Regions from separate parts of the Homo sapiens genome. Here regions 1, 2, 4 and 5 are each linked to region 3. Evidence: promoter capture Hi-C in 16 types of primary human blood cells and fetal thymus (Javierre and others, 2016). All regions are on one chromosome and are shown on one strand. The core of a region is centred on a gene start or on the middle of the fragment in contact, and the rest is flanking DNA. Distances in the headings are between cores, read along the strand shown. Region 1 overlaps ZMYM4 (zinc finger MYM-type containing 4). Region 2 has its middle 4.8 kb from the start of ZMYM4. Region 3 holds the start of SMIM12 (small integral membrane protein 12). Region 4 overlaps SFPQ (splicing factor proline and glutamine rich). Region 5 overlaps ZMYM4 (zinc finger MYM-type containing 4).

What was found. Contacts are between HindIII fragments. The CHiCAGO score rates a contact against its expected background, and 5 or more counts as called.
Region 1: a fragment that was not itself captured here is called in contact with the fragment with the promoter of SMIM12 in region 3 in 3 of 17 cell types (fetal thymus, naive CD8 T cells and naive CD4 T cells); the score reaches 7.5 in fetal thymus.
Region 2: a contact is called between a fragment that was not itself captured here and the fragment with the promoter of SMIM12 in region 3, in 4 of 17 cell types (total B cells, total CD8 T cells, erythroblasts and 1 more). The highest score is 7.4, in total B cells.
Region 4: a contact is called between a fragment that was not itself captured here and the fragment with the promoter of SMIM12 in region 3, in 1 of 17 cell types (fetal thymus). The highest score is 6.5, in fetal thymus.
Region 5: a contact is called between a fragment that was not itself captured here and the fragment with the promoter of SMIM12 in region 3, in 2 of 17 cell types (fetal thymus and non-activated CD4 T cells). The highest score is 6.4, in fetal thymus.

Annotation. Positions count from the first base shown.
Region 1 is chr1:35,301,563-35,306,438 of GRCh38, reverse strand. All of the region lies in intron 1 of ZMYM4 (zinc finger MYM-type containing 4), which reads right to left. Among named protein-coding and RNA genes, the nearest start is that of ZMYM4, 35 kb to the right of the region's middle. The HindIII fragment of the contact is 6,308 bases long and covers 1-4,876 here.
Region 2 is chr1:35,261,544-35,266,334 of GRCh38, reverse strand. No RefSeq gene overlaps it. Among named protein-coding and RNA genes, the nearest start is that of ZMYM4, 4.8 kb to the left of the region's middle. The HindIII fragment of the contact is 1,924 bases long and covers 978-2,901 here.
Region 3 is chr1:34,857,873-34,862,727 of GRCh38, reverse strand. It overlaps SMIM12 (small integral membrane protein 12), which reads left to right and starts at 2,979. Exons shown (of 2, transcript NM_138428.6): 1 at 2,979-3,051. RefSeq lists a silencer at 3,028-3,157. The HindIII fragment of the contact is 6,874 bases long and covers 2,299-4,855 here.
Region 4 is chr1:35,182,199-35,186,586 of GRCh38, reverse strand. SFPQ (splicing factor proline and glutamine rich) reads left to right here. Exons shown (of 10, transcript NM_005066.3): 10 at 1,994-3,651. The coding sequence ends at 2,131. Among named protein-coding and RNA genes, the nearest start is that of SFPQ, 8.8 kb to the left of the region's middle. The HindIII fragment of the contact is 2,849 bases long and covers 11-2,859 here.
Region 5 is chr1:35,282,849-35,287,734 of GRCh38, reverse strand. The region is part of intron 1 of ZMYM4 (zinc finger MYM-type containing 4); the gene reads right to left. Among named protein-coding and RNA genes, the nearest start is that of ZMYM4, 17 kb to the right of the region's middle. The HindIII fragment of the contact is 1,700 bases long and covers 1,227-2,926 here.

The DNA of each region.
Region 1 (4,876 bases), core at 1,016-3,515, 440 kb before region 3:
AAATGAATACTGGTAACAATGGATCATGACACACTGATTAAAGAATTCGTGAGACCTTACTGATACATAAAAATAAACAAGCATTCATAGAAGGAAAATATAAGACAAGGCCCTAAAATATGGTGGAGAAAAAGGAAGGGAGAGAGATAAATGAAATATACTATTCTACAGGTTCTATAAATGATATAATTTTTAAAGATAATAACTTAAAAGATGCATGCTGTAATCTTTACAATAACCTCTAAATACAAAGGAATACATCTAAATACTCAAAATAGAACAGTGAAAAAATGCAATCTACCTACAATAAGGCGAGAATAAAGAACAAATGGCATCAATAAGACACAAATAAGAAGACAGAAGACTTAAATCCAACTATGTAATTACTACATTAAGTCTAAAAGGAATAAACACAACAATTACAAACTGTCAGACTGCAGAAAAAGGCAAAACCCACATAGAGACACAGACTGAAAGTCAAAGGGTGGGGAGGGTAACACATGTCAATCCAAACACTAAGCATAAAAAAACCCTGATATTATATATAACCACATTAATCTCAGATATAGGAGGCCTAAAGAGAAAGTATGCACCCAGCACAGTGGCTCACACCTGTAATCCCAACACTTTGGGAGGCAAAGGAAGGAGGATCACTTGAGGCCTGGAGTTGGAGACCAGCCTGGGCAACAAAGCAAGAAAAATCCCATCTCCACAAAAAATAAGAAAACTCAGCTAGGCACAGTGGTGTGTACCTGTAGTTCCAGCTACTTGGGAGGCTGAGATGGGAGGACTGCTGGAGCCCAGGAGTTCGAGGCGGCAGTAAGTTATGATTACGCCACTGCACTCCAGCCTGGGTGATGAGCAAGACACTGTCTCTAAAAAAAAAGAAGAGAAAACATGACAAGAATAGAGTCACTCAGCCAAGCATGGTGGCCCAAGTCTGTAATCCCAACACTTTGGGAGGCTGAGAGATCACCTGAGAAAAAAAATCTTAAAAAAAACAGAAAGAAAAAAGAATAGAGTCACTAAATATGATCATCAACAAGACATAACTCTATATGTGAAGCAACTAACAATACAACTTCAAAATACATGAAGCAAAAAACAGAACTAAAGAGATAAGTAAAATCTCCAACTGTGGCTGCAGATTTATAGTTCTGTCAGTTAGAACAAGACAAAAAAACAAGTAAGACACAGAAGATTTTTACAGCCCTACCAACCAACTTGACCCAAGTGGTATTTATAGAAACACTACACCTAATAACTTGGTATGCACTTTTTAAAGTTTACTTGTGGGCTGGGCGCAGTCGCTCACGCCTGTAATCCCAGCACTTTGGGAGGCCAAGGCGGATGGATCACGAGGTCAGGAAATCAACACCATCCTGGCCAACATGGTGAAACCCCATCTCTACTAAAAATACAAAAATTAGCTGGTCGTAGTAGCGCATGCCTGTAATACCACCTACTTAGGAGGCTGAGGCAGGAGAATCGCTTGAACCAGGCAGTCAGAAGTTGCAGTGAGCTGAGATTGCGCCACAGCACTCCAGCCTGGGGACAGAGCAAGACTCTGTCTAAAAAATAATAAAAAATAAAGTTTACTTGTGGAGGCACCAAGATACACTATATGCTGGACCATAAAAAAAGAGCATCGATAGAAATCAAATAATTGAGGCTGGGAGTGGTGGCTCACACGTGTAATCCTATCACTTTGGAAGGCCAAGGTGGGAAGATTGCTTGAGGCCAGAAGCTGGAGACCAGCCTGGGAAACATGGTGAAACCCCATATCTAAAAAAAAAAAAATACAAAAAAAAAATTAGCCAGGCATTGTGGCACACGCTATAGTCACAGGTACTCTTAAGAGGCTGAGGTGGGAGGATGATTTGAGCCCAGGAGGCAGAGGTTGCAGTAAGCTAAGATCGAGCCATTGCACCCCAGCCTGGATGACAGAGCCAGATCCCGTCTCAAAGAAAAAAAAAAAGAAAAAAAAATCAAATAACTGAAATAATAGAAAATACATTCTCTGACCTCAGTGGTATTAAATTTGAAATCACTATAAAACAAGATAATTACAATATCAAAAATTAGAAATTAAGCATACTTCTAAAGAAACTGTATGGCCGGGCGCGGTGGCTCACGCCTGTACTCCCAGCACTTTGGGAGACCAAGGCGGGCAGATCACTAGGTCAGGAGTTCGAGACCAGCCTGGCCAACATAGTGAAACCCCATCTCTACTAAAAATACAAAAAATTAGCCGAGTGTGCTGGTATGCACCGGTAATCCCAGCTACTCAGGAAGCTGAGGCAGGAGAATCGCATGAATGTGGGAGGCGGAGGTTGCAGTGAGCCAAGATCATGGCATTGCACTCCAGCCCAGGCGACAGCGCGAAACTCCGTTTCAAAAAAAAAAAAGAAACTGTATGGTAATGTAAGTAGAAAAATAAATCAGAGAAAACTCAGTAAATATTTTGAACTGAATGATATATAAACACAACTTACTAAGAGTTTGGGGATGCACTTAAAGCAGGGCTTAGAAATGTCTATAGCTTTAAACCATAAGTTATTGATATAACTTAAAGAAGGATGCCAAATCAAGAAGCTAGGAAAAGAAAGCAAAGTAAACCCAAAATAAGTGGAAAGAAGGAAATAATAAAGATAAAAGCAAACATCAATCAAATAATGATAAAAGCAAAAATAAATTAAATAGAAAATAAAGAACAGCATAAAAATCAGTGAAACCAAAAATGAGTTCTATCAAAAGATCAATATAGGCTGGGCGCTGTGGCTCATGCATGTATCACTTGAGGTCAGGAGTTTGAGACCAGCCTGGCCAACATGGCAAAGCCCTGTCTCTACTAAAAATCCAAACATTAGATCGGTGTGATGGTGCGTGCCTATAGTCGCAGCCACTTGGGAGGGTGAGGCAGGAGAATCGCTTGAACCCAGACGGCGGAGGTTGCAGTGAGCCGATATTGTGCCACTGTACTCCAGCCTGGGTGACTCCGTCTCAAAAACAAACAAACAAACAAACAAAAAACACAAATTGCCAATATCAGGAATGAAAGAGAGATCACCACTACAAATCTACAGACATTACAAGGAATATAAAGAAATACTATAAGCAATTTTTTTTCTTTTCTTTTTTTTTTTTTTTTGAGACAAGGTATCCCTCTGTCACCAGGCTGGAGTGCAGTGGTACCATGACAGCTCATTGCAGCCTCGACCTCCCAAGTTCAACTGATCCTCCCACCTCAGCCTCCAGAGTAGCTGGCACTACAGGCAATCACCACACCTAACTAATTTCTGGATTTTTTGCAAAGACAAGGTTTTTTTGTTTTTTTTTTTTTGCCAGGTTTCCCAGGTTGGACTCGAACTCCTAGACTCAAGTGATCCTCCCACCTCAACCTCTGGTGGAGCTAGGAATATAGGCGTGGTCACTATGCCCTGGATAATTTTTTTTTTTTTTTGGAGACAGTGTTTCCCTGTATTGCTCAGGCTGGTCTCAAACTCCTGGCCTCAAGCAATCCTCCCACCTCCAGCCTCCAGAGTAGCTGAGATTGCAGGCATGAGCCACCACATCAGGCTCTCTTTTTAAAAACAGCTCTTTAAAATGCAAAAGCCAGACTGGGTGCAGTAGCTCACACCTGTAATCCCAGCACTTTAGGAGGTCAAGGCTGGAGGATCACATAAGCCCAGAAGTTTGAGACCAACTTAGCAACATAGTAAGATCCCATCTCTACAAAAAAATAGTCAAATTAGGCTGGGCGCTGTGGCTCACACCTGTAATCCCAGCATTTTGGAAGGCCGAGGAGGGCGGATCATGAGGTCAGGAGATCGAGACCATCCTGGCTAACATGGTGAAACCCTGTCTCTACTAAAAATACAAAAAATTAGTGGGGCATTGTGGCAGGCACCCATAGTTCCAGCTACTCGGGAGGCTGAGGCAGGAGAATGGCATGAAACCGGGAGGCGGAGCTTGCAGTGAGCTGAGATCGCACCACTGCACTCCAGCCTGCACAACAGAGCAAGACTCCATCTCAAAAAAAAAAAAAAAAAAAAAAAAAGTCAAATTAGCCAGTCCGCTGGCACAGGCCTGTAGTCCCAGCTTCTCCAGAGGCTGAGGCAGGAGGATCTATTGAGCCCAGGGGTCAAGGCAGCAGTGAGCTGTGATGGTGCCACTGCACCCCAGCCTGAGTAACATAGCAAGGCCCTGTCACAAAAAAAAAAAAAAAAAAAAAAAAAGCAAGAGCCGTTTTTAGCTTGTGGATAATACAAAAATAGGCTACCGACTAGAATTTGGCCTGTGAGCTACAGCTTGTTGACCCTTGTTCTAGAGACTGCGCTCAGACAACAAAAATGAATGGAACAGGATTTCAACTTTTCGGCTATTATGAAGTAACAGAGAGTGGATTTACCTTCCTGCCTTAAACAACTAAAAGGTCAGACAAAATTATGAAGTAAATTTTTCAGGCATTGGAGAACAGGCAGAATAGAACAGTAAGCTCTGAGAGAAGAGAAACAAACGAGGTGAGTCCTATCATTGCCCCAGCTTACCATCTGAGAGTTTCCAGGCCACATAGCATACAGAGTGAACCTAAATGGAGCCTGGCAATCTCCCGAAGTTGAGGAAACAGGGTTCAGAGTTAGCAGACATCAAAGAGGCCAGAATACTAAAAAGGAGAGAGATACACTGAGAAGTTCAGAGATCTGCAGAGTACTCTCCTCTAGTCTTCAGCTAAGTATCAAGCTGCACAAGTAAGAGAAGAAACCATGGAGGCCAGTGAAACAGTCACCAGAAAAAAGCGGGCAGAACAATTCCTAGAGTTTATACAGGGCCTGAAATAGTTCATGTTCCATCAACCAGAAGGAAAAGACAAGAC
Region 2 (4,791 bases), core at 690-3,189, 400 kb before region 3:
AGTGCAGTGGCGCGATCTGGGCTCACTGCAAGCTCCGCCTCCCGGGTTCACACCATTCTTCTGCCTCAGCCTCCCGAGTAGCTGGAACTACAGGCACCCGCCACCATGCCCGGCTAACTTTTTGTATTTTTAGTACAGACTGGGTTTCACTGTGTTAGCCAGGAGGGTCTTGATCCCCTGACCTTGTGATCCGCCTGCCTCGGCCTCCCAAAGTGCTGGGATTACAGGCGTGAGCCACCGCGCCCGGCCATTATCTTTTTTTTAAAAAAAAAAAGTTAAATCATATATCAACATTTTAAATGGGATATTTCACCTACAAGTTCAGTGCTCTGACTTGTTTCAAAAAAAAAAAAAAAAAAAAACTAGACTATAATGGGGCTAGTATCTTGCAAATATCAAACAGATTTCTTTTAACTTTCTTAAGTCATCTTCTGTCATAGACTCTTGCTTGAAATGTAGCCTTGAGACTTATTTTCCCAATCAGGAGAGAACAGAATGGAGAGAAAAAGAATTTGCTAAATTTTCTTAGTTCCATTTAATCTATGAAGCTCAGCACATAATAATTTCATAGAGTTTTTACATACTCCACAGGAAATGCCTTCCACCCAAATATCCTTCCATCCAGGACAGCTAAGCCATGAGGCTGCATATAGGGAAATAAAAGAAAAGTCTGACTCTTTTAATAAAAGGGTAGAGAGAAGAAGAACAAAGAGAAAAGTAAGAGAGGCATCATTGAGAGACATGTGCTCCTGTCTTCCCATTCCAGCTCTTCAAGGCAGAGAGGATTCTTACTCTGCTCCTGTTTAAGATTCCAAGTAGAGATGACTTGCAGACTATGCCCATACCAACAAGCAGACAGCCACATATGAGCAAAAGTCATGCCCTGATGTAGTTGGGAAAAAAGAGCAGGTCTGCATTTAGCTCCTCAGAGTGTCTCTCAGCCAGAGATGAATCCAGGTTTTACAGATCTTGAAGCTTACATGATGGGGGGAGAGGGAGGGTTTTTTTGTTTGTTTGTTTTGTTTTGTTTTTAAGAAAAAGAACACAGAATTACATACACAAAATTAGGTACAGGGTTTTGGGCGGAGCTCTGCAAGTGAGTGGTCCTTAGCTCCTGCGAGAGAAGATATCCAGAAGTTCCCACATACCCTGTAGAAGAATACGGAAAGTAGCCAAGAATGCTGGCTGGCAAGTATAGGAGGAAGTAGCTCTGTAAATTACACTGGGCCAGGAACAAAAAGTAGTAACAGCCAGACCTCAGGAAGAGCTGTGTGGTTTGCCTTCAGGCTCTGAGCAAACTTAGCGAGGCCAGGCTACAAAACATTCCACTCTCTTAACAACAGGCTGTAGAGCATCCTGAGAGGTCAGGGACTCCGAATAGATTCAAGGTCTCAGGCTTCCCCAAAGTCATAATGCCTCATAAATGCAGACGTTATTTTAGATACTCACTCAGAGGGAGAGGGCAGCCACAGGAAAGATACAGTGTTTCTTTCCAAAAGAAATTATTAACTAACAGAATTCTAACCATTAGATTCAAATATGTTTTAAACTACATTGGACATTTAGGTAGATCCATTCAGAAAATGTTAGGAAGAAAGTAAAACAAGTGGGATAAAAAATAACTGTAGTGGGGCTACTTTAGATATGTTAGTCAGTGAATATTTTCCGAGGAGGTGACTTTGTTTTTCTTTTTCTTTTCTTTTGGAGGCAGGGTTTTGGCTGGGCACGGTGGGTCATGCCTGTAATCCCCGCACTTTGGGAGCCGAGGCAGGTGGATCACTTGAAGTCGGGAGTTCCAGACCAGCCTGGCCAACATGGTGAAACCCTGTCTCTACTAAAAATACAAAAATTAGCTGGGCATGGTGGCACATGCCTGTAATCCCAGCTACTCGGGAGGCTGAGGCAGGAGAATTGCTTGAACCCAGGAGGCAGAGGTTGTAGTGAGCCAAGATCGTGCCACTGCACTCCAGTCTGGGCGACAAAGTGAGACGCTGTATCAAAAAAAAAAAAAAAAAAAGAGGCAGGATCTTGCTCTGTCATCCAGGCTGGAGTGCAGTGTCACCTTCATAGCTCACTGGAGCCTCAAACTCCTGGGCTCAAGTGATTCTTCTACCTCGGCCTCCCAAAGTGCTGAGATTACAGCTGTGAGCCATCGCACCTGGCTAGGAGGTGACATTTGAACTGAAACTTAAATCATGACCTCATGACTGAGAGCCATCTGTGCAAATGTCTGGGTCAGAGCATTCCAGTCAAAGGGAGCAGCAAGTGTAAAACCCCTTGGCAGGAACAAACTTGAAGTGTTCAAGAAAAGCAAGGTGCCGATGTTACTAGGACCAAGTGAGATGGGGCAGAAGATGAAGTCAGAGAAGCAGACAAAGACAAATTATGAAGATCCTTGGATGCCATGGTAAGGATTTGTAATTTTCTGTGTATGATGTAAAGCCATTGAAGTCTTTGAAAAAAAAAAAAATGATGTGAACCCTCTGGATACCATGTGCATTGCAGAATAAGCCATAAAGGAGCAAGGGTGGATGTAAGTTACGAGGCTTTGTGGCAGTCCAGGTAAGAGATAACAATGACTTAGCCTAGGGCATTGGCGTTGGAGATAGTAAAAATTAGATTCAGAATATATGTATTTTGAAGGCGTAGCCCATGGAATTGCTGCTAATGAATTGGGTGCTGGGAGTGAAAGAAAAAGTGATTTAGGGATGATTCTTAGCTTTTTAGCCTGAATAGATAGGTTAATGCTGTTGCCCATTATTTGAAATGCAAAAAAAGAGAGCAGATGTGAGAAAGTGGGCAGAGAAAGAAGGAAGATGTCTTGGACATGATAAATTTGAGATGCCTCTAGACATCCAAGTGGAAATGTCGAATAGCAGTTAGATATTCAAATCTGAAGCTTAGGAGAGATAACAGGGCTAGAGATAGAAATATGAGAGTCATTGATATAAGCCATAGACTTGATAGAGTTACCAAGAGCACGTATATTGAAATGAATCCGGAGGCACCCCGACATTTACAGCTCAGGAAGAGAAAGAGAATCAGCCAAGTAGCAGGAAAGTCAGGAGAATTTGTGGTCTCAGTAACCAAATAAAGACTGTTTTGGGAGAGGCTCAATTACTAATTTTTCAGATGTCACTGAGAGGACAAGTAAGATGAGGCCCAAGAATTGATGATACGATTGAAAGATCTTTAGTGATCTGGACTAGAATTATTTCAGTGGATTTGTTTAAACATAAGCATGATTGGAGTGGCTGGAAGAGAGAATAAGAGATGAAGACATAGAAACAGTGAATGTGAACAATTCTTTCAAGAAGTTTCACTTTGAAAAAGATTAGAGAGATAGAGTGCTATTGGAGAGGAATGTGGCCCAAGAAATCTTTTTTTAAAAGATGGGAATCACTAATGCACATTAAAAATAGTAAACCATGACCAAATACATTGGAAAGGTCAAATAAATGACATGGGCCAGGCGCGGTGGCTCATGCCTGTAATCCCAGCACTTTGGGAGGCTGAGGCAGGTGGATCACCTGAGGTCAGGAGTTTGAGACCAGCCTGGCCAACATGGTGAAACCCTGTCTCTACTAAAAATACAAAAATTAGCTGGGCATGGTGGCAGGCATCTGTAATCCCAGCTACTTGAACCCGGGAGGCTGAGGCAGGAGAATCGGTTGAACCTGGGAGACAGAGGTTGCAGTGAACTGAGATTGCACCATTGCACCCCAGCCTGGGCGACAAGAGCAAAACTCCATCTCAAAAATAAATAAATAAATAAATAAATAAATAAATAAAATAAAATAAAGGACATGGCTTCCAAAACCTCTCCCTCCAAGCTGAGACAAACCATGGAGATGAGGCTGAGACAGTAGAGAAGAGCCAGGAAGTAGATAACCAGGCAGGTCAAAAAGAAATCACGCATCCTGGGGTAAATCCAACTCTAGAAGTCAGTTCTCCATCTGGTATTTAGTCCCTCGGACATGCATTCTTTAGAATTATCATAATTATTGTTTTTTTCTGCAAAGGAAGCTAAATATCAGTTCATTGATTGATTATTTATTTATTTATATTAGAGACAGGGTCTTGTTCTGTTGCCCAGACTGGAGTATGGTGGTGTGATCATGGCTCACTATAACCTGAAACTCTTGGGCTAAAGGGATCCTCCCACCTCAGCATCCTAAGTAGCTAGGGCTACAGGCCTGTACCACCACTCCAGGCTAATTTTTAAAATATTTTTTAGAGATGGGGTCTCTCTATGTTGTCCAAGCTGGTCTTGAACTCCTGGCCTCAAGCAGTCCTCCCACCTTTACCTCCCAAAGTGCTGGGCATGAGCCACTGCGCCCAGCCAGTAAATTCAGTGTACTTCTTCTATAAACCTTGTTCTTCAAGTTCTACTGGATGAGATACAATTCAGTACTAACCAGGATATATTAAAGATGAGCACATTGAAGCTGGGCGTGGCAGCATGCGCTTGTAGTCCCAGCTTCTTGGGAGGCTGTAGTGAACTATGATTGTTCCTGTGGATAGCCAGTGCACTCCAGTCTCCTGGGCAAATAGTGAGATCCTGTCCAAAAAAAAGGAGAAGGAGAAAAAGGAGGAAGAAGGAGAAGAGGAAGAAGAGGAGGAAGGAGGAAGAAGGAGGAGGAGAAGAAGGAGGAGGAGGAGAAGAAGGAGAAGAAGGAGAAGGAAGAGAGGAGGAGGAAGAAGGAAAGAAAGAAAAAGAAAGAAAGAAAGAAAGAGAAAGAGAAAAGATGAAAGATGAGCACAGTTAATGCTGGTGAGTTAGATATTTTG
Region 3 (4,855 bases), core at 1,730-4,229:
TGGTCCAGGTAAGAGATAATGATGTTGACTTTGAGAGACATTTAGGAGGCATAAGTGCAGTAAGCTGGATCTGGAGAATAATGTAAAGATGGGACGCCTTGAAGGTGTCACTCAGATTTCTGGCTTAATGAATGAGTAATGCCACGAATGGACATAGGACATTACAGAAGGAGCAATACAGTTGGGAAATACTTAACATGTCAATAACCATTTACTGAGCACTGAGAAGGTGCAAACTACTATGCCAAGCACTTTATACACATTTAGGTGATTTAATACTCATAGCAACCCTAGGAGTGGGTACTATTATTGTCTTTTTTTAAAAACAAAGAGTGTAAATAGCTTTTCTGAGATAAGCAGACAAGAGTCAGGATTTGAACCCATGGCTATCTGATTTCTCAGTCTATGCTCCTGAGCCCCTCAGCAATTCTGCTTGAGGGAACTGCTAGCCATGACTCAAGACTCAGCTCAAGGCTTGGTTCCTCTAGGGAGCCTTCCCTGAATCTTCCTGGCTGGGCTGAAGATCCTCCTCTGTGCTGCGTGTGTATACTTCTGTCATCACATTTCTTACATTCTATTGACATTTTGTAGACCCATCTGTTTCTTTAGTCAGAGAACTCTGGAGGCAGGTTGGTCCCAGTCATTTTTGCATCCCCATTGCCTAGCACATGATTGGCTGACCAAATGCCAGTTACTCTGGACAGTTCTGTTCCCTTCTCCTCTCCACATATTCAGTTAGTGAGCAGGTTCTGCTAACAACGGTCTCCTAAATATTTATTTGTACTGTTGGGGCTCAGAAAGCGATACCCCAAAGACTGGCGCTTTGACATGCTGAGAGGCCTTCGAAGCTGCCTCAGAATCAAGGTCCCTCTAACCTTCTCTCCCAAGTATAGGGAGGCACTCTCTCTAGAATTTCCTAATCTGATCGAGAAAACGTCTTTCCAAAAGAAACAAAATTGCCTTCCTCCCCTCTCCGAAATCTCATCTAGCTCAGAAAAGAAGACTGAGGAAGGCAACTACGCCTGGATGGATTTTTCACAAGATGATGCCTGTTTCTCGGGCTCATTCAAATTCTAAAGAGAATCATTTACAAGTTAATTTCTGTCCATTTTTTCGCCCTAAGAATCACTTGCTGCCCTCAGAAGAATTGTCTATATTCTCCATCTCTCCCCTTCCCCTATGAAAAAGAGTGTATACGCTTCTGTACCCCATTGGGTTATTGGGTAATCATTCTCCTGTGACCCTTCCCTTCCCACCCCCTCGCCTCCCCGCCCCGTGCTATGCACGTTAAAATAAAATTTTGTATGTCTTTTCTCCTATTAATCTGCCTTTTGTCAGTTGATTTTCAGTGAACCTTGGCCCCTACAATACTGTTCCCTTTTCTCCATCTTCACTGCCAGAGCTTAGCTTTGAGCTGTTTGAGATAATAGAGGAAGGGTGTCTAATGTGATAAGCAGTCTATGTATGAGGCTTCCTCTGGAGGTGACCCTTAAGCTTGAAAATTGTGCCAGAGCACAATCTGGCATAGTAAAGAAAGGTGGGAAGGGCACTACATGGCCAGGCACGGTGGCTCATGCCTGTAATCCCAGCACTTTGGGAGGCTGAGGCGGGCGGATTGCTTGAGCTCAGGAGTTCGAGACCAGCCCTAGCAACATGGTGAAACCCAGTCTCTACAAAAAGTACAAAAATTAGCCAGGCCTGGTGGTGTGCATCTGTGGTCCCAGCTACTCGGAAGGCTGAAGTGGGAGGATCACTTGAGCCCAGGAGGTTGAGGCTGCAGTGAGCTATGATTGTGCCACTGCACTCTAGCCTGGGCAACAGAGCGAGAGTCCTGTTAAAAAAAAAAAAAAAAGCGGCCAGGCGCAGTGGCTCACGCCTGTAATCCCAGCACTTTGGGAGGCCGATGCGGGCAGATCACCTGAGGTCGGGAGTTCGAGACCAGCTTCCCCAACATGGAGAAACCCCTTCTCTATTAAAAATACAAAATTAGCCGGGCGTGGTGGTGCATGCCTGTGATCCCAGCTACTCAGGAGGCTGAGGCAGGGGAATCACTTGAACCTGGGAGGCGGAGGTTGCGGTGAGCCGAGATCACGCCATTGCACTCCAGCCCAGGCAACAAGAGTGAAATTGAACAACAACAACAAAAAAGGTGGGAAGGTAGATGAAAAAGCATCAATAAGGCACTGAGGTGTGAAACAGTGTGGTCTGCCGGGTTTAGTATGTGCGAGCAAAATAAATATGCAGGCTGAGATTAGTGGGATGAGGGTGGGAAGGGCCTTGTGGGAGCATTAACAAGCTTGAGCTTTGGGACTTTTCTGTATATGATAAAATTGATGTCTGTATAGGGTACAGTGGGGACACAGAGGAGGAAGTGAATACTTGTACCCAAGAGGTCATGTAAGACTTAGGTTTTACTATATTTGAATTATTTTTACACTAACAATAGCCACATTTATTTCCCTGCTGGCTGTGTGCCTGCCACAGTACTTTACAAATATTATCTCTTCCAACCCTCACACCATCCTTGCGAAATGGGTGTTATTACCTCTACACAGAAGGGGAAGGGAGGCTCAGACAGGTTAATAATGTTCCCAAGGTCACTAGAAAGCTAGCCCGGATCCCAAGAGGTCTTAAAGCACTAAAATATACTCTTCTAAGAAGAGCTTCTTGAGGTCAGGGATCATGTCTTTTGTTTTTGCGTGCCCAGACCTAGGTCTTAGAAGACGCCTAATAAACATCAGTTGAAAAAAATGACTGGATGATCTTTCACTTTTTCCACGCAGAAAACACGTGGCGACATCACTGAGAAACCTCCCGGCCAACAGAGGGCGCGACGTCCATTTCAGCGCAGTGGGGCCCAGTTGCGGACGCCTAGCTTCCTTCCGTCCTTTGGCTGAAGTTCAGCCAATCCCTGCGCTCCGAGAGAGCCGGCGGCCAGTGGGCAGGGTCACAGGGCAAGGTCCCGCGGGCCGCTGGGTGCGGCGACTTCCGTGCTCCCGGCGAGCGGGCGGAGAGCGGGGGCCGCACTGGGGAGTGTGGGCTGGGCCGCAGGTGAGCGCGCGGTCCCGGCGAGCAGGTCGGGTCAGCCCAGGCCAGTAACCTCTGAGTTACGGGAGGAGTGATCGCTAGGGTCCACCCCGGTCCCGGCCAGATCTGCCAGCTCCCCTCTCTGGCGGGTGTTCTGGTGCCAAGTCTGGGAGCCCAGGTAGCCCTCCGCAGACAGGGCTTCTCGGCACCTCAATGAGGACGGACGTTGATGAGGCCATGAATGAGGTGGGCTAGGGACAGGGGACCGGGAGACTCACAGAAGGGAGAAGGGTAGCCATTTGGATGGACCTTCGCCTTACTTGCGCTCCCATTCCTGGACTGCGCTCTAGTGACTGTCAGGGCTAATTCTTCCGCCTTCTCAGGCCTCCTGTGTCCTTGTTAGTAGTTCTTGAATTTGGGACTACGGCTTCTGGCCTCGTTGGGCCTCCGGGCCCTCGCACTGGGGCAGGTTTCCCAGCAGCCCAGTTGACCTTTACCGGATGCTTTTGGCAGACGTCCTCCATGCCGGGCTGGAAATATGCGTCACAGTGTTTTTCAGACACTTTTGCCTCTTTCATTGTGATACCCTGCCTGGGGACGACTATGATGGAGTCTTTAGGTTTTTGTAATCAGCAAAGGCATCTGTTATGCTCCTGCCACCTTTTGGGGGAGAGTGGGTGGAGGATGTTGTGATTTTACACTAGGGAGTTTGGGCTGTCATTCATTCGTTCAGCAGACCTTTTTTGGGCACTCTGCCAGGCAGGGTAGGAGAGGTGCCTGGATGGATAGGGCATAATTGGGCCAGACAGACACGGTTCTTAGCCTTTTGGAGCTTAAAGTGTCTTGAGAAACGCAGACAGGGTAAGCCAGCATCGTGCCTGACACAGAGTAAGTGGTTATAAGTGTCGAATAAAGGAATGAATTGACTTATTTGGGAATGATTAGAATGTGAGCAGGACGGTAGCGAGAGACTTTATGCTGCATGTGAGAGATAGTTGTGAACTCATGCGCGATATGTTTTAAGACAGGTTTGGAAATCTGAACGGACAGTTGCTATTTAGGGAAGCATTTACTTATACAGAGGACTTGCTTTAAAGGTGGAAGTAAAATGGAGAAGTATTAGGTTTGGGATTCTTCAGAGGTGCCTCTTTTAACTATTACTATGTCTCTGAATTTCATAAATCCCTGAGTACAATCTCAGAGTTTGGGAAAAGGAAAGCTCTTCTAGGTAATGAAATGCCAGGCTGATGGGAAAAAACTGTAGGAAGCTCTCCCTAAGTCCAGGGTTTGGACAGAAACCGTATACCTCTGCAGTGTGTTCTTCCCACTAGAAAGAGTGTAGGCTTTGAAATTGGAGAGGCCTGGGTTCAAAATCAGTGGCTCTATCACTTCTAGTGATCTTGGATAAGTTAACATAATGTCTGTGAGCCTTTGTGGCCTTCACAAGAGTCTGGGCTAATAATTCCTACATCATAGAGGTGTTATGAGGATCAAATGATGATTAGTGTGTAAATTGTCATCATAGTGCCTGGTGCTGAGACAATAAGCGGGGGAGTCTTGGAGATGCTGCAATTTTTTTTTTTTTTTTAAATTTCATGATGCTGCCTTATTGCAGGGGTCCTTAACCCCCTGGGCCACAGACCAGTGGTGGTCTTCAGCCCATTAGAAACTGGGCTGCACAGCAGGAGGTGAGCGGTGGGCAAGCTGGCAAGCATTACCGCCTGAGCTCCACCTTCTGATAGATCAGCAGCGGCATTAGATTCTCACAGGAGTGCAAACTCTATTGTGAACTGCGCATGTGAGGGATCTACGTTGTGTGCCCCTTATG
Region 4 (4,388 bases), core at 186-2,685, 330 kb before region 3:
GTTTGAAGCTTTAGGCACGTTTTAGTGATGTGTAGGACTTTGACCTATATTTGGTGTGGCTTCTATCCTATGAAAAGGGAATTGAGTGTTTTGACTCGTCGTTTCCCACCTGTTGGGCCTGTCTGTAGGTATACCTTCTAAAATCAACTGACATCTCCATTTTGCTACAGAGTAGCAAAAATCAACAATTTTTAAGCATACTAATGGTGTGCATTTGATCTGAACCTTCTTGATGCTATCATGTTTCAGCTGTGAATATAGCCTGTCAGATGCTTAGAACAATCAGTTGAACTGGTATGAGTGGCTGCATTAGGGCTTTACAAATCGTTAGGACTGAATTTTGGTGGGTTTAGAGAGTGCATTTTTATAGCTGAGTTGAATGTGATGAGTTCACTACAGGCTTTTGGCAAAGGAGGGGAGCTGCAGTGAGTAGCTCATAAGATTCATTTTATAAATAGAAACATAAGGATTTTGTATAAGGCCTCACCTGTTTATAATCTACCTAAGACTTTTTGGGAATTAAAGTTAGAATTATAAATGGCTGGTTGGGTAAAATGTAATACTATGGGCTTTCTTTAGATTTTTCAGAGTATGTGGGTAACATTTTGGTTTATATTCTTCCTAAAGACAGATTGTTAGGTAATGTGTAAAATCTAATTTGACCTTATGTTCTCACAATTAAAGGTTTATATTCTAGATAACAGGTAGCTGATAGCTCCTGGGTTCTCAGCTGGTGTAATTAACATAATTATGAAAGCCCCAACTTTTTCTTTTTTTTAAGTTCTTAGAGGTAGAACACAGAACAATGAGCCAAAAACCCTGTAATTTATAAGATTTTGAAAAACAAAGGATAAAAGTTTAGTCATGTTGAGTAGCTCAATAGTATTTTGTTTAAAAGAATGTTGAAATTGTGTATAGGAACAGTTAAACCCTGATGCCCTTTTAGTTTTTTATTTGGAGTAATACTCTTAGTAACTGGTCTATTATAAATGGAATGAGAAAAAGTGTAGGCTGCTGTGTTTGCATACCTGAGGGGTCTGCTATTTAGGCACATATGTTTCTATTGAAAACTTCTATCTCCAGAATTACCTAAAACTAGATGGGAATAGTGAAGTCACTCACTGCTTTATTGCAGTTACTTTAGCTTCGTGTTTCACTGTTCGGGAAGTGTCTAAAACATGGAATTACAGCAAAGTGTCTGCACTTTTCAAAGACCTAAGGGAAAAGATGGACTGATGAAGGTGGGTGGGGTTTGTTCATTTAGTTTGCAACAATATAGAATAGTACTGAGAACGTAATTGTCTCTGGTTATATAGTGATGGCTCGGAAGGTAGTGTGCCTGTGAGAATTTGGCAACATAAGTTTTTTTGATCAAGTTACTGTGCCGGTTAAGTGACTAAATCTATAGTCTTATGCTTTTTCTTTTTGTAGTCTGGTAGCATTTTATTAAAACTTTCAACCTTTTAAGATTTCTGCAACTTAGCAGATGTGTCTTAAGATCTTGAAAAGCACAAGGTTTCTTAAGCAGCACATGCCACTAACTGGTGAGTAGGTCTTTGTCACTTCATTGAGTGAATTGAATCTCTGGTTGGGCTTGTTAGGCTTACTTGGAAATTAAATTTCCGTTCAGACGTTGAAAGTGAGAGTTTGCAAGTTTTTCAGTGGGTTAATCTGATGTGAAATTTCTTAGAACTCATTTTGGAATGGATTTTCACATCTGCACTAATTCTTAAATTTTTTAGCACTACAGGGAAGATCTGTTCTTTGAAACAGGTGTATGAGAATGGCTCAAGTGGGAACATACCACAAGGCATGTATTACCGTAAACTAATTTTCAAATTACCCTTTTTTCCTTTCTATGTTCCCGGTACCTGTGGATCGACTCATTGGTGATTGTATCGACGAACGTTGACTACGGAACCTTCTAAAATATTTACTTAACACACATGGACATCAACTACTTATAATGAACTGTTAATTACTGTTCCAATAGCGTACTGAGCGCTTTGGGCAGGGAGGTGCGGGGCCTGTGGGTGGACAGGGTCCTAGAGGAATGGGGCCTGGAACTCCAGCAGGATATGGTAGAGGGAGAGAAGAGTACGAAGGCCCAAACAAAAAACCCCGATTTTAGATGTGATATTTAGGCTTTCATTCCAGTTTGTTTTGTTTTTTTGTTTAGATACCAATCTTTTAAATTCTTGCATTTTAGTAAGAAAGCTATCTTTTTATGGATGTTAGCAGTTTATTGACCTAATATTTGTAAATGGTCTGTTTGGGCAGGTAAAATTATGTAATGCAGTGTTTGGAACAGGAGAATTTTTTTTTCCTTTTTATTTCTTTATTTTTTCTTTTTTACTGTATAATGTCCCTCAAGTTTATGGCAGTGTACCTTGTGCCACTGAATTTCCAAAGTGTACCAATTTTTTTTTTTTTACTGTGCTTCAAATAAATAGAAAAATAGTTATAATATTGATCTTCAACTTTGCCATTCATGCTTCTATGCATATTAGGCTACGTATTCCACATTGAAAGCATGAGAGTGTCTAGGCCTTTGAATGGCATATGCCATTTCTGGGAAATGCATCTGGAGGCTAAGTATTGCTTTCTACAAATAATTGCCCCCTTTGTTTTAAAAAGAAGAAATGCATATTGAAGTAGTTTGATGATTTGTTTGGCATATAGGAAGCACGCTGGTGCTAAGTATTTTTTAAATGGTTATGTAAGCAAAGCTGAACTGTAAATCTTCAGGAATATGTATTAAGATTGTGGAATGGGTGTAAGACAATTGGTAGGGGGTGAAAGTGGGTTTGATTAAATGGATCTTTTATGGCCCTATGATCTATCCTTTACTTGAAAGCTTTTGAAAAGTGGAAAGGTCATTTTGTTGCATTTCCCCATTTCTTGTTTTTAAAAGACCAACAAATCTCAAGCCCTATAAATGGCTTGTATTGAACTTTTACATTTGAATTAAAGATGTTAAACATGAAGTCTTTTCATGTATTCAAGTGATTTATAAAGATGGGGTGTAGTCTAAAAAACAAAACTTGAAAGTAAGAAGGTTTAGTAACTGGGCCGGGCGCGGTGGCTCACGCCTGTAATCCCAGCACTTTGGGAGGCTGAGGTGGGCAAATCATGAGATCAGGAGTTCAAGACCAGCCTGGCCAACATGGTGAAACCCCGTCTCTACTAAAAATACAAAAAATTAGCTGGGCGTGGTGGCAGGCGCCTGTAATCCCAGCTACTCGGGAGGCTGAGCCAGGAGAATTGCTTGAACCTGGAGATGGAGGTTGCAGTGAGCTGAGACTGCCACTGCACTCCAGCCTGGACAACAGAGCGAGACTCTGTCTCAAAAAAAAAAAAAGGTTTAGTACTGAAGTAGGTTTAGTTATATATACATTTGTACTCTGTAACTTTTACATCTCCTTGTGCTACTTCTGTTGGGCAAAATCTATAGGACTATAAAAATCTATTGGTTCTCTTCTAAGAGCTAGTGGTGATTGTTAACAAATAGGGTTGCAGATAATCATTCTTATTGTAAATTTAACTTGTTTTCACATAGTTTCGTTTTCATGTAGCACTAAATCTGGAGAAAGTTGCTCATGCTACACAGTACAAATATCCCTTCCTCCCACCATAAAGGCTTGGAATGTTTCCATGGTGTTGTCAGTTAATTGTCAACTTCATTGAACCCCCTTCCATTAGAACAAGAGACTTTGACTATTAAAGTAGATTGTTTATTGTTGCCTGTTAGTATAATGGGAGCCTGATTTCCCAGTGTAAATATGTTAGAGGAACAGCTTCCTAACAGTAGGTAAAGTAATTGAATGGTTTGGCTTTGTTCTGAGTTACGTTCCATTCAAATCTGTACATTGTAGAATTCTTACTATGGAATGTGTCTTCCTCCTTTTCACCTCTTTTCTTGGTGCTAATTGGCAAAAGAAAAATTCTAAGTCAAACCTTTATTAACATGCTGAAGTTTAGTATTGTGCCTGTGTACAAAAGGAGACCTATTGTTGGAACAATCTGAGCACTTTCTGCATAGGAAACAGGATAATGCTGAAAGTAAACACTAGTGTATAAAAGCATCTCACCAAATACTGGTTGTATGACTGACAGGTACATGGTGTGCTAAGGGAGAGAATCTCATTAGAAAGTAATGCTCATTATATCATTCACCAGCACACTCGGAAATATGAGTAGTTTTACCATGATTATATCAGTGAGGAAGTTTTGTCCCCAAACAGGTTATTAATTGGTGATACATAAGAGATTTTCTGTACGGAAACAAGGGTCTTGATTAGAAAGGAATCCATTACAGTTTGGTTGAATTATATAGTAGGGACTCTACTAAAGACAAGAAAATAAGGGGTGTTCCATGGGACACCCAC
Region 5 (4,886 bases), core at 827-3,326, 430 kb before region 3:
ACATGGGAGGCTAAGGCAGGAGAATCGCTTGAACCCGGGAGATGGAGGTTGCAGTGAGCCGAGATTGCGTCACTGCATTCCAGCCTGGGTGACAGAGCAAGACTCCGTCCCCCAAAAAATAAAATAAAATAAAAATAAAAATAAAATAAATAGGAAAAATAACAAGTTGAGAAGGGGAGGGCACTAGGTGTGTGAGCAAGTAATTGGCAGGGAAGAAGGAAGTAGGAGTTCAGTTGTAGACATAGTGAATTTGCAGTATTTGTATGACAGCAAAAACACAAGATTTTTAGTTTTAAAGACAAAAACAGAAGCGAAGAAGTAAAATGGAAATCACATAATGTACTTAATGGGTAGATCCTAAAACTACTACTATAAGCCAGTGGCTGATGCCTGTAATCCCAGCACTTTGGGAGGCCAAGGAAGGAGGATCACTTGAGGCCAGGAGTTCAAGGCCAGCCTGGGTAATATAGCAAGACCCCATCTCTTAAAAAATACTAAGTAAAAAAAAAAAAAAAATTAAGTAAAACCACTATTGTAGAAGAGATTGCTCAAGAAAATACAAGCTGAGGGAATAACACTTATTGAGCACGCAAAAAGAGCAATTCAAGAGGAGAACCATGAGAATGCCATCTCATAAAACAAGGAAAAAGTCGAGGAAGGAAGGGCAACAGAAATAAGAAAGGTCAAATAAAGATCTAAGAAAAGTCAAATAAAATAATCTCTGAAAAGCATCCATTAGATTTGGTGATTATTAGATCATTTCAGTGTTCCTAAAGAGAAGAATTTCAGTGCCAAAACAGAAAGATAAGCTAGGGCCAGGCAGGGTGGTTCACACCTATAATCTTTGGGAGGCAGAGGTGGAGGACTGCTTGAGCCCAGGAGTTCAAGACCAGCCTGGACAACATATGGAGACCCTGTCTCTACAAAAAAAAAAAAAAAAAAAAAAAAAAAAAAAAAAAAAATTATTTAAATAGCCAGGCACAAGGGTATTGTCTGTGGTCCTAGCTGCTCAGGTGGGTGAGGTGGGAGGATTGCTTGAGCCCAGGAGGTCAAGCCTTCAGTGAGCCGTGATCATGCCACTGCATTCCAACCTGGGCAACAGAGTACGATCCTGTCTCTTAAAAAAAAAAAAAAAAAAAATAGGCAGACAGAGGCAGGCAGGCTCAGGAGTGAATGGGAAATAAGCAACTTACACCATCTCATAAAGATTCTAACTTCAAAAAGCTTGTCTGAGTTCAGGCTGTGGTCTCCAGATAACATCTTCCACTGAAAGGTACTGAGGCGTCTTGCAAAACAAGTTAATTCCAGGTCTGAAGTAGCGTATGTATAGATGAGCCTGGTTCTATTTTTTTGGCGGACGGGGAGGAATCTTTCAAGGACTATTGGAGTTAAGTCAAAGGGATACAGGTGTTTCAGTATTTTTTTTTTCTTCTTGACTCTAATGTAAATGAAATTGTTTTCTTAAAATTTCCTTTTGGGATTGTTCTAGTGTACATAAATACAACTGATTTTTGTGTGTTGATGCCATATCCTGCAACTTTGCTGAATTTCTTACTAACTTGCACAGTTTTGTTTTTGGCATAACTTTAAGGGTATTCTACGTATAAGATCATGTCACCTTTAAATAGAGATAGTTTTACTTCTTCCTGTCCAATTTGAATGCTTTTTATTTCCTTTTTCTTGCTTAACTTCTGGCTAGAACTTCTAATACTACACTGAATAGACATGGTGAAAGAAGGCATCCTCATCTTGTTCCTCATCTGAGGATAAAATCTCTCAGTCTTTCACCACTGAATATGATGTAAGCAATGATTTTTCATGGGTAGCCTTTATCATGTTGAGGAAATTCCCCTCTTTTCCTAGTTTATTAAAGTGCTTTTACAAAGGAAAGGATGTTAGCTTTTCTTTAATACTTTCTCTGCATCAACTGAGATGATTTAGTCATTCCTCAGTATCTGTGGGGGACTGGACCCTGGACCCCCCAAAGATACCAAAATCCTTGAATGCTCAAGTCCCTTATATATAGTATTTGCATATAACCTACACACATCCTCCTATACAATTTAAATCATCTCTAGATTACTTATAACACCTAATACAATGCAAATACTATGCAAACAGTTGTTATACTCTATTTTTAAATGTTGTATTTTTTTTCCTCTGGTCCTTGATTAAGGAATAAATTTGTATTACCTTTTATTTTTTTTTCCAAATATTTTTGATCTGCAGATGTGGAACTCATAGATACAAAGGACAGACTGTAGTGAGTTCTTTTTTTTCTTCATTCTACTAATGTGGTAGATTATACTGATTGATACTTGAGAAAAATTTAACCAAGGAAGCACAAGACTTGTACACTAAAAGACCTGTACAAAACATTGCTGAAAGAAATAAAAGAAGACCAAAATAAATGGAAAGACATTCCATGTTCACAGACTGGAAGACTTAACATTGTTAAGATGACAGTAACTACCCTTGATTTACAAATTCAATTTTGATCCCTGTCAAAATCCTAATAACTCTTTTTTCAGAAATAGGAAAAAACCATCCTAAATTTCACGTGAAATTTCAACACACCCCAAATAGCCAAAACAATCTTGAAAAAAAAAACTTGAGGACTCCTACTTCCTAATTTCAAACCTACTACAAAGCTACAGTAATCAAAACAGTGTAGTACTGACACAAGAACAGGCATATAGACAAATAGAACAGAACTGAAAGTCTAGAAATAAACTCTCGCATTTGTCGTTGTTATGGTCTGAATGTTTGTATCCCTCCTCCCCAGATTCATATGTTGAAGCCTTAACCCCCCATGTAATAATACTTGGAGAGGGGGACTTTAAAAGGTAATCAGCTAGATGAGGTAGTGAGAGTGGAGCTCTCATGATGTGATTAATGCCCTTCTAAGAAGAAACACCAGAAAGCTTACACTCTCTCTCACCTCACAAACACTAAGAAATCACATGAGCACAGAGCAAGGTAGTGGCTACCTACAAGCCAAGAGAAAAGGCCTGAAAATAAAACCTACCTGTGGGCACTTTGATCTTGGACTTCCCAGCCTCCTGAAATGTAAGAAATAAATTTGTTGTTTAAGCCACCCAGACTATGATACTGTGTTACGACAGCCCAAACTGATACGATGGTCAACTGACTTTCAACAAGGTTTCCAGGACCACTCAATGGGGAAAGAACAGGCTCTTCAACAAAAGGTGCTATGAAACCTGGATATTCATACACAAAAGATTGAAACTGGACACTTACTTTGTACCATAAACAAAAATTAACTCAAGATGGATTAAAGACCTAAATTAAAGACCTAAACACTAAAACTCTTAGAAGAAAACATAGGGAAAAATCTACATGAACTTAGATCTAGCAATAGCATCTTAAATATGATACCAAAAGCATAAGCTACAAAAGAAAAACACAAATTGGATTTCATTAAAATTTAAAACTTTTGGCCGGGCGCGGTGGCTCACGCCTGTAATCCCAGCACTTTGGGAGGCCGAGGCAGGTGGATCATGAGGTCAGGAGATCGAGACCATCCTGGCTAACAAGGTGAAACCCCGTCTCTACTAAAAATACAAAAAATTAGCAGGGCGCGGTGGCGGGCACCTGTAGTCCCAGCTACTCGGGAGGCTGAGGCAGGAGAATGGCGTGAACCCGGGAAGCGGAGCTTGCAGTGAGCCGAGATTGCGCCACTGCAGTCCGCAGTCCAGCCTGGGCGACAGAGCGAGACTCCGTCTCAAAAAAAAAAACAAAAAAACAAAAAAACTTTTGTGCATCAAGGCCACTATCGTGAGGGTGAAAAGACAATCTACAGAATGGGAAAAAAATATTTGTAAATTATTTTTGTGATAAGAGTTTAATATTTAGAATATAAAAACAATTCCTAAAACTCAACAACAAAAAAGACAAGCAATTAAAAAACATGCACAAAGGACTTAAATTTGTGCAATTAAAAAACATGCACAAAGGACTTAAATAACATTTCTCCAGAGAACATATACAAAAGGCCAATAAACACATGAAAAAATGTTCAGCATCATTAGTCACTGGAAAAATTCAAATCCAAGCCACAGTAAGATACCACTTCAAGGCCGGGTGCAGTGCCTCACACCTGTAATCCCAGCACTTTGGGAGGCCGAGGCGGGTGGCTCACGAGGTCAGGAGATCAAGACTATCCTGGCTAACATGGTGAAACCTGTCTCTACTAAAAATACAAAAAAATTGGCCGGGTGTGGTGGTGGGCGCCTGTAGTCCCAGGTATTCGGGAGGCTGAGGCAGGAGAATGGCGTGAACCCAGGAGGTGGAGCTTGCAGTGAGCTGAGATTGCGCCACTGCACTCCAGCCTGGGCGACTGAGCAAGACTCCGTCTCAAAAAAAAAAAAAAAAAAAAAAAAAAAAAGATACCACTTCACACCCACTAGGACAGTTATTAACCAAAAATAAAAGACTTTGAAAGGCCGAGGTAGGTAGATCGCTTGAGGTCAGGAGTTCAAGACTAGTCTGGCCAACACAGTGAAACCCCATCTCTACTAAAAGTACAAAAAAAAAAAAAATTAGCCAGGCATGATGGCACACACCTGTAATCCCAGCTACTTGGGAGGCTGAGGCAGAAGAATCACCTGAACCCAGAAGGTGAAGGGTGGAGGTTACAGTGTGGTGAGATGGCACCACTGCACTCCGGCCTGGGCAACAGAGTAACACTCTGTCTCAAAAAAAAAAAAAAAAAAAAAAAAAAAAAAAAAAAACCACACACACAGAAAACAACAAGTATTGGTGAGGATGCAGAAAAGCTGGAATCCTCATGCATTGCTGGTGCAAATGGAAAATGTTATAGCCCCTGTGCAAAAGGTTCCTCAAAAAGATAAACACAGGCTGGG